Linked DNA regions of Homo sapiens: region 1 is linked to region 2. The links are contacts of gene promoters, found by promoter capture Hi-C in blood cells and fetal thymus (Javierre and others, 2016). All regions are on one chromosome and are shown on one strand. The core of a region is centred on a gene start or on the middle of the fragment in contact, and the rest is flanking DNA. Distances in the headings are between cores, read along the strand shown. Region 1 overlaps SYT9 (synaptotagmin 9). Region 2 holds the start of CYB5R2 (cytochrome b5 reductase 2).

Region 1 (4,207 bases), core at 1,083-3,582, 330 kb after region 2:
ACAGGCTCATAGGTGGAAGGGACTTGCCTTGTCTCAGATGAGTCTTTGGACTATGAACTTTTGAGTTAATGCTAAAATGATTTAAGACTTTGGGGGACTTTGGGGAAGGCATGATTGGTTTTGAAATGTGAGGACATGAGATTTGGGAGAGGCCCAGGGGTGGAATGATATGATTTGGCTCTGTGTCCCCTCTCAAATCTCATCTTGAATTGTCGCTCCCATAATTTCCACATGCTGGGGGAGGGACCTGGTGGGAGATAATTGAATCATGGGGGCAGTTTTCCTTATACTGTTCTCATGGCAGTGAATAAGTTGCATGAGATCTGATGTTTTTATAAGGGGTTTCCCCTTTCACTTGGCTCTCATTCCCTCTTGCCATAAAGCCATGCCTTTTGCCTTCCACCATGATTGTGAGGTCTTGCCAACCACGTGGAACTATGAGTCCATTAAACCATTTTCTTTATAAATTACCCAGTCTTGGGTATGTCTTTATCAGCAGCATGAAAATGAAATAATACAAAGACTGACTGCTTCTTGCAAATATGACTGAGATGTGAGTCATATCAGTATGATTACACACAGTATGATTACACATATGTAATCATATATGTGATTTAAACTTGACTCCTCTGCTTCATAAAACCAACTCAGTCTCATGGCCGCTGTCTTAGTCCATTTTCATACTGCTATGAAGAAATATCTAAGACTGGGTAATTTATAAAGAAAAAGAGGTTTAATGGATTCAGTTCCATATGGCTGAGGAGGCCTCACAATCATGGCAGAAGGTGAAAGAGGAGCAAAAGCATGTCTTACATGGCAGCAGGTAAGAGAACGTGTGCAGGGGAACTGCCCTTTATAAAACCATTAGATCTCATGAGACTTATTCACTATCATGAGAACAGCATGGGAAAAATCCACCCTTATGATTCAATTACCTCCCACCAGGTTCCTCCCACAACACATGGGGATTGTGGGAGCTACATTTCAAGATGAGATTTAGGTGGGGACACAGCCAACGCATATCAGAAGCATCTTCCAGTAGCCCTTACATCCTGTGCCTAAACACAAGATTAATGTTTTCCAACTCAAAGGAGTCCGAGGTGTGTAGAGACTGGAGCAGTCCTCCAGTACAGCACAGCAGCTCTCTGAAGAAGCAGGAAGACTGCATTTTCATGCAGGTCCTGGATCCCATTTCTCTTCACTGGGTAGAATCTCCCAGCCAAGGTCTACAAGCACCTCTGCTGGTGTTTTCCAGCTAGTAACAGCTTCAAACTTCCCTGAGACAGAGCTCCCAGAGGTAGGGACAGACCATCATCTTTGCTGTTTCACAACCTTCACTGTTGATACTTTCAGGTGCTAGAAAATCCAAGGTGAGTAGGAACTGGAGCAGACCCCCAGCACACTGCAGCAGCCCTGTGAAAAAGTAGCCAGAGTGTTTGTTATGTGGCTCCCTAATCCTGTATCTCCTCACTGGATGTGGCCTCCTGGCCTAAGACTCCACTATTCCCCACTGGGGCTACTGAGCCAGTAATAGCTCTGCAATTGCCTGGGACAGAACTCCCAGTGGGAAGGGTGGATTACCATCTTTGCTGTCTTGCAGCCATCACCCTTGCTGTCTCCAGGCTCTAGAGAGTCTGCAGGCACCAGGGGCTTGTCCAGACCTCCAGTACAGAACACCTACCTCACAGAAAAGTGACTGGATTGTTCTCCATACAGGTCCTGGTCCTCACTTATCCTCACTGGTTAGGGCTGCCTGATCTCAGACTCTAGCACAATAACCCTGCTCCTGCCTGACCACTTCAATCAGAAGCAGCCCAGCAGTTAAAAGAATACCCACATGCAGAGATGAGAAAGAACCAGCACAAGAACTCCAACAACTCCAATAGTCAGAGTGTCTTATATCCTCCAAATGTCTGCACTAGTTCTTTAACAAGGGTTTGTTACAAAGCTTAGTTGTCTGAAATGACAGAAATAGAATTCAGAATATGGATAGGAACAAGGATTGTTAAAATTTAGGAGAATGGCAAACTCATCTCAAGAAAACTAAGAATCACAATATAATTATTCAGGAGCTGATAGAAAAAATAGCCAATATAAAAGAGAACCTAACTGACCTGATAGAGCTGCAAAACACATTACAAGAATTTCACAATACAATTGCAAGTATTAACAGCAGAACAGACCAAGCTAAGGAAGGAATCTCAGAACTTTTAGACTGGCTTTTTGAAATAAGGCAGTCAGACAAAAATAAAGAAAAAAACAATGAAAAGGAACAAACAAAACCTCTGAGAAATATGGGATTATGTAAACAGGCCAAATCTATTAATCATTGTCATTCCTGAAAGGTATGAGGAGAAAGCAAACAACTTGGAAAACATATTTCAGGATATTGTCCATGAAAACTTCCCCAACCTTCTTAGAGAGGCCAACAGTCAAATTCAGAAAACACAGAAAATCCCTGCAAGATTCTACGCAAGAAGATCATCTCCAAGATGCATAATCATCAGATTTTCCAAGGTTGAAATGAAAGAAAGAATGCTAAAGGCAGCTAGAGAGAAAGGACTGGTCACCTACAAAGGGAACACCATCAGACTAACAACAGACTTCTCAGCAGAAACTCTACGAACCAGAAGAGATTAGGGGGCCTATATTCAAAGTTCTTAAGGAAAAAAAAATCTTCAACCAGGAATTTCATATCCAACCAAACTAAGCTTCCCTAGTAAAGGAGAAATAAGATCCTTTTCCGACAAGCAAATGCTAAGGGAGTCTGTTATCACCAGACCTGCCTTACAAAAGATCTTGAAAGGAACACTAAATATAGAAAGGAAAGGCTGTTAGCAGTCAGTGCAAAAACATACTTAAGTACACAGACCAGGGACACTAAAATGCAACCACACAAACAAGCTGGCGTAACAACCAGCTATCAACACAATGACAGGATCAAATGCACATATATCAATATTAACCTTGAATGTAAATGGATTACGTGCCCCATTTAAAAGGCACAGAATGGCACGCTGGATAAAAAAAGCATGACCCAAGGACATGCTGTCTTCAAGAGACCCATTCCACATGCAATGAGACCTATAGCCTCAAAATAAAGGGATGGAGGAAAATCTACCTAGAAAATGGAAATCAGAAAAAAGCAGGAGTTGCAATCCTAACTTCAGATAAAAACAGACTTTAAAACAACAAAGATCAAACAAACAAAAAAAGCCCAAAGAAGGTCATTACATATTGGTAAAGAGTTCAATTTAACAAGACCTAATTATTCTAAATATATATGCATCCAACACAGGAGCACCCAGATTCATAAAGCAAATTCTTAAGAGACCTACAAAAATACTTATACTCTCACACAATAATAGTGGGAGACTTAAACACCCCACTGCCATTATTCAACAGATCACTGAGGCAGGAAATTAACAAAGATATTCAGAACCTGAACTCAATATTGGACCAAATGGACCTGATATACATCTACAGAACTCTCCACTCAAAAACAGAATATATATTCTTCTCATCACTACATGGCACATACTCAAATCGAGCACACGATCAGACATAAAACAATCCTTAGCAAATGCAAAACAACCAAAATCATACTAAACACACTCTCAGATCATAGCACAATAAAAATAGAAATCGAGACAAAAAATCACCCAAAACCATGCAATTACATGGAAATTAAACCACCTGCTCCTGAATGACTTTGGGGTAAATAATGAAATTAAGGCAGAAATCAAGAAGTTCTTTGATACTAATGAGAACAAAGACACAACATAACAGAATTTCTGGTACATAGTTAAGGTAGTGTTAAGAGGGAAATACACAGCACTAAACACACACATCAAAAAGCTAGAAAGGTATCAAATTAACAACCCAACATCACAACTAAAAGAACTATAGAAGCAAGAGTGAAGCAACTCTAAACTAGCAGAAGACAAGAAATGAAAATCAGAGCTGAACTGAAGAATATTGAGACATGAAAAATCATTCAAAAGATCAATGAATCCAGGAGCTTGTTCTTTGAAAAAGCTAATAATAATAGATAGGTCACTAGTTAGATTAATAAAGAAGAAAAGAGACAATATCAATTAGAAATGACAAAGGAGATGTAACCACAGATGCCACAGAAATACAAACAACCATCAGAGACTACTACAAACACCTCTACGCACACACATTTAAAAACCTAGAAGAGATA
Region 2 (4,739 bases), core at 1,468-3,967:
AATACTTATGGACAGAAACAGGAAAGTGATGTACAGAAAACATAAGTGAGGTACAGAAACAGCGGGATTGGTTACAGCTCATGATTTGCCTTACCTGAACACAGTCTGAACAGTTGGCTGCCTATAATGGGCTGAAACTTCCATGATTGATACAAGAGTAGGTTACAGTTCACTATGTACGAAGAAACTTTTAGGGTGAAACTAAAACATTAAGGAGGCAGCTTTAAGTTAAACTTAACAGATTATAATATGTACATGTACTTAAGTTGGGGGATCACAGCAGGCATCTCCAAGGGAGTGATATCTGACCTGAGATCTAAAGAATGTATAAGAATGAAAGACATAAACACTTGTTGTAAACTACCGTAACTAAAACAGTGTAGTATTGCGACAAGGTTGGGCAGCTAGATAATGTAAGAGAAATGGGAGGCCGGAGCTAGACTCACACACCTATGAAAACTGATATAGGCCAGGGGTAGCAGGTCAGTTGCAGGTCAGTGGCCAGATGTGAGCAATTCAATAAATGTTACTGAAAAACACACATTAGCCACATGGAAAAATGAAATTGTATCCCTGCCTCACATCCTACACAGAAATCAATTCCAAGTGGTTGAAAAACTTAAATGTGAAAGGAAAATCTTTAAATCTTGTTGGGGAAAATATAGAATATCTTTAAGGGCTTGGGTAGAAATAGACAAGTCACAAAAATCACTAACCATAACGGCAAAAAAATTGAAGATTGGTATATTTGGTTATACTGCAATTCAAATTTCTATTCATCAGACTACACCACAAAAAGGTGGGACAGAAAAGAAAGAAAGAAAAAAGAAAGAATAAGTTACAAATTACGAGAAAACATTACTAATTCATGTAACTGGCAAAGAAGGGATATCTAAAACATATAAAACCCCTAAAAATCAGTAAGAAAAAGACAACAGAAAAATGAGCAAAATTTATGAGCAGGCATTTTTTTTTTTCTGAAAAGGAAACTCCATGGGAAATAAATATATGAAAGGTGCTCAAACTTATTAGCAGTTATTAGGTAATGCAAATTGGATTCCTGATACATCATTTTACACTTATCGCATTGTCAAAAATTAAAATATCTGCCTATAATAACCAAGCACCTGCAGGTAAATCAAAAGTAAAGGCATTTGATTAAGTCAAAGAGAGAAAATTAAGTTTGTTTATTCATTCACACAGCAAGAATTTTTGAGCCTGTGGTGGTGTGTGTCTTGGGGAGAAGGGTTGGTAAAGTGTTATGGGTTATTGTTTTCACCCTGATTCTTATGTTGAAGCCCTAAGCCCCAGTACCTAAGGATATGACCTTATTTGAAGGTAGAGCCTTTACATAGGTAATCAAGTTAAAACAAGGTCATTAGGATGGACCCTAATTGAATATGACTGGTGTCTTCATAAAAGGGGAAATTTGGACACAGGGACACACACAGAGGGATGAAAATGTGGAGACATAGGAAGAAGATGCCCCTTCTCCTAGCCCCTCTCCTACAAACCTAGGAGAGGCATGGAACAGATCCTTCCCTCACAGCCCTCAGAAGGAACCCACTCTGCCCACACCTTGATTTTGGACTTCCAGCCCCCAGACCTGCGAGACAATAAATTTTTGTTGTTTAAGCCGCTCAGTCTGCGGCACTTTGTTACAGCAGCCCTAGCAGAGTCAAACAGGTGGGGATCTGCTTCTGGGCTTCTCTGTTTCACACAGGTCCTGAGGCAAGAATTTGCCTTTGCCTGTAATCAAGGGCGAGCCGGGCAGCCAAGGTTCCGAAACGCACCGTGAAGACCCTCTAACTGTGCCTACTATTCTGCTCCCCTCCGATCGGCGCGGGGCTCTTGTCCTTCCTCTCTCCACCCAGCGAATGAATGAACGCAGGAGCGCTCGGAGTACACGTCTTCAACTCGGCGACGCCCCTGCTTCGGCCCCACCCCGCAAACACCCGCCCCGGACCAGGCCCAGGGTAGGCGCCCATGAGGTATGTCGAATGAATATATTCGCGCGCTCTTTGCAGCTGCCTGAATTCTTCCTTCCCCAGCATCCCCCTCCGCCCGGTCACCCAGACGGCCTTCTCCAGCCTTGCCGAGCTTAAGTAAGCTGAGGGGCGCTCAGTGTGGCAGCTCTGCGTGTGCAGGGAAGGGGCCAGGATGCAGAGGGGCAGCGCAGGAGCGAGGACGCCACGGCTCAGCGCCCCGCCAGCCTCATGATGGAGCGCTGCCCTGGGGGCAGGGCTGACCCAGAGCCAGCGGCTCGTGAGTGAGAGCCCCCCGACCACGGCCCTTCTCGGGGAGCGGGCCAGCCGCCGGGGTCCCAGCCTGCGGGGTCCGCCCGCGCTTTTGTCCTCCCGGGCGTGCGTGTCCGGGTCTCGGCCGGTTCCCCGTCGGCCAGGCGGAGCTGCGGGGCGACGCCACGAGTCTGCGGGCCCGCGGCGGGGAGCGGCCCCCGGCCAACCCCAGTTCGACGACGTGTTGGGCGTCTCACTCCGGGTGGGTTCCGCGGCGGGGTGTATTTATGGAGTATTGAAGAAATATCTCCGTCGGGACGGCCGGAAGGAAAGAGGCCAGAGGCGCGGAGGCCGGCTAGAGCCGGGAACGAACGTCCGACCGGGAGGTTGGGGGCCGGAGCGGGAGGCGTGGGGAGAGGTCGTGGGCGGGACCGCGAAGGGCGGGGAGTGGGGCGGGCCGGCTCGGATTCCGGAAGGCTGAGACTCCAGTGACCCGGCGGGAGGAGAGGCAACTTTCCCTGTCGGGCTTGAGTTGGGAGAGGAGCAGGGCGGCCTTGTAGGGTAGGGACAGATGCGGGGAGGCTCCCGAGTCTCTGGCAGTTGAGTGCCCAGGCCCCCTTCGCCCTGTCCAGGAGACTGTTGGGGAGTCCCCAGGCCCTAAGTCACGGGGCACCTCTTAGAGCTACGCACCCTAGTTCTGTCTTTAGGGACTGGGCCCCTCATTCCGGATTGTGTGTTAGGGGTGATGTCCTCCCCCTTCACCTCAAGGAAGGGACTTCCAGTGTATGAACCTTTGGCTGTAGCCAGGAGGGGCCTAGTGACCTGAGCACCCCAGGCCATGTGTGCTGCCTGCTCCAGGGGCCTGAAACATCCTTCCTGTGTGACCTGCAGCTGACCCCTCCCTACCCTCTGGTCCACGACAGGCTCTCCCAGCCGCCTTCTGTGTCACTACTGTTCTCTTTGCCTATTTCCTGCAGGCAGAGCTCAGCTCCTGTGCCTTTGGTGTGGGGAGGGTGTTCTGCGCCTGAGAGCTGCCCTGTCCAGGGCGGGCAAGACCTGAGGTGCTCTGTTCACATTGTGTCTGCCAGGACCCGTCCCTGCTCCTGACCATCACCGTCACTGGGGTCACTGTGCTCGTGTTGGTCCTGAAGAGCATGAACTCCAGGAGGAGAGAGCCAATCACCTTACAGGACCCTGAAGCCAAGTACCCGCTGCCCTTGATTGAGAAAGAGGTAATGGGTCAGCCCTGTGGGTGGAAGGCAGTAAGTGGATGATGGCTGGGATGGCAGGGCATCCAGACAGTCATCTCATGGCCTCCAGTTCACTCCCCGCCGCCCTGTGTGTGTGTGTGTGTGTGCTGGAATAGCGCCAAACGGACCTCCTTTCCCAGGCATCTCAGCTGCCCAGCAAGGCTTCTAGAAAGCTGACAGAACCTGCCTATGTTTTGTTTTATCAGAAAATCAGCCACAACACCCGGAGGTTCCGCTTTGGACTGCCTTCGCCGGACCATGTCTTAGGGCTTCCTGTAGGTGAGCCGGGCTTGGGTCATCACCAGGACTGGGGCCTCTGGGGGCTAGGCCCTCCTCTCTTAACAGAAACACAGGTTTCCCACGTCCTGAGGTGTGGAAGATGCCCTCTTGCTCCTCCTGAGCCTGTGAGCTCAGGGAGATAGATAGGGGGATGGATGTGGGACAGAAAATTTCTTTTCTTCATTATTCCAATTGGGCTGACACGAGAGTGGTACCTCAGTGAGCATTGAAAAGAACTGAACCTAGAGCCAAAAGGCCTAAAATCTCATGGAAGGCTCCTTGCTGGGGAACTTAAGGGAAGTCCTTCAATCTCTCTGAGCCTCAGTCTATGAAATGGGATTTCCCAGGCCTGCCTGTCTACCTCACTTGGGTTGTTGTGAAAGTAGAGTGACTGATGGATATGAAAATTCAGAAACTACAAAGTATTGTGCACCTGGGAGGGATGGGAGGAACCAGTGGTCGGGGAAAGGCCCAGAATGTGCGGGTAGGCAGGAATGAGTCAGGTGTGCCCTGCCCCCAAGGTCACTTAGATTCTCTGCAGGGGCCTCAGACCCACATAAGGAGGGACCAGCCCTACGAGTTGCAGATTCCAGCCCTAGGAGTCCTAGAGTTGAGTTATCCCATTTCTAATCTGTAACACCACTAGATAGCTGAGTCAGTCTTAGTGCAGTAGAAAACTGCTAGAATCAGGGATTCAGAGCAGCTTTGTATAATCTGCTAGTGCTGCTTGCCTGCCTGGTGGATCCTACTCCGTGGCCTATTTGTCTTATATGCACAGGCCAAAACCTTGACCTCAGCTCTATCAGGTGGTGAGATTACACTCTAGCCAGCTCGCTGGGCCCCTGAGCCTCCTTGCTGTTCCCTCACTCCATCTCTATGCACGAGAGCTCAGTGTTGTGCGTGCCGTCTCTCAGCTCCCTGCTCGGCCTGTCAGGCAGGTCCTGTTGGCAGGAAGCCTAAAAGAATGAAAAAC

Evidence for each region. Contacts are between HindIII fragments. The CHiCAGO score rates a contact against its expected background, and 5 or more counts as called.
Region 1: a fragment that was not itself captured here is called in contact with the fragment with the promoter of CYB5R2 in region 2 in 1 of 17 cell types (naive B cells); the score reaches 5.0 in naive B cells.

The regions. Positions count from the first base shown.
Region 1 is chr11:7,338,117-7,342,323 of GRCh38, reverse strand. The region is part of intron 3 of SYT9 (synaptotagmin 9); the gene reads right to left. Among named protein-coding and RNA genes, the nearest start is that of SYT9, 88 kb to the right of the region's middle. The HindIII fragment of the contact is 763 bases long and covers 1,951-2,713 here.
Region 2 is chr11:7,671,478-7,676,216 of GRCh38, reverse strand. CYB5R2 (cytochrome b5 reductase 2) reads left to right here and starts at 2,717. Exons shown (of 9, transcript NM_016229.5): 1 at 2,717-2,798; 2 at 3,326-3,469; 3 at 3,694-3,766. The coding sequence starts at 3,392. RefSeq lists a silencer at 2,205-2,414 and enhancers at 2,935-3,034, 3,055-3,104. The HindIII fragment of the contact is 8,029 bases long and covers 1-4,739 here.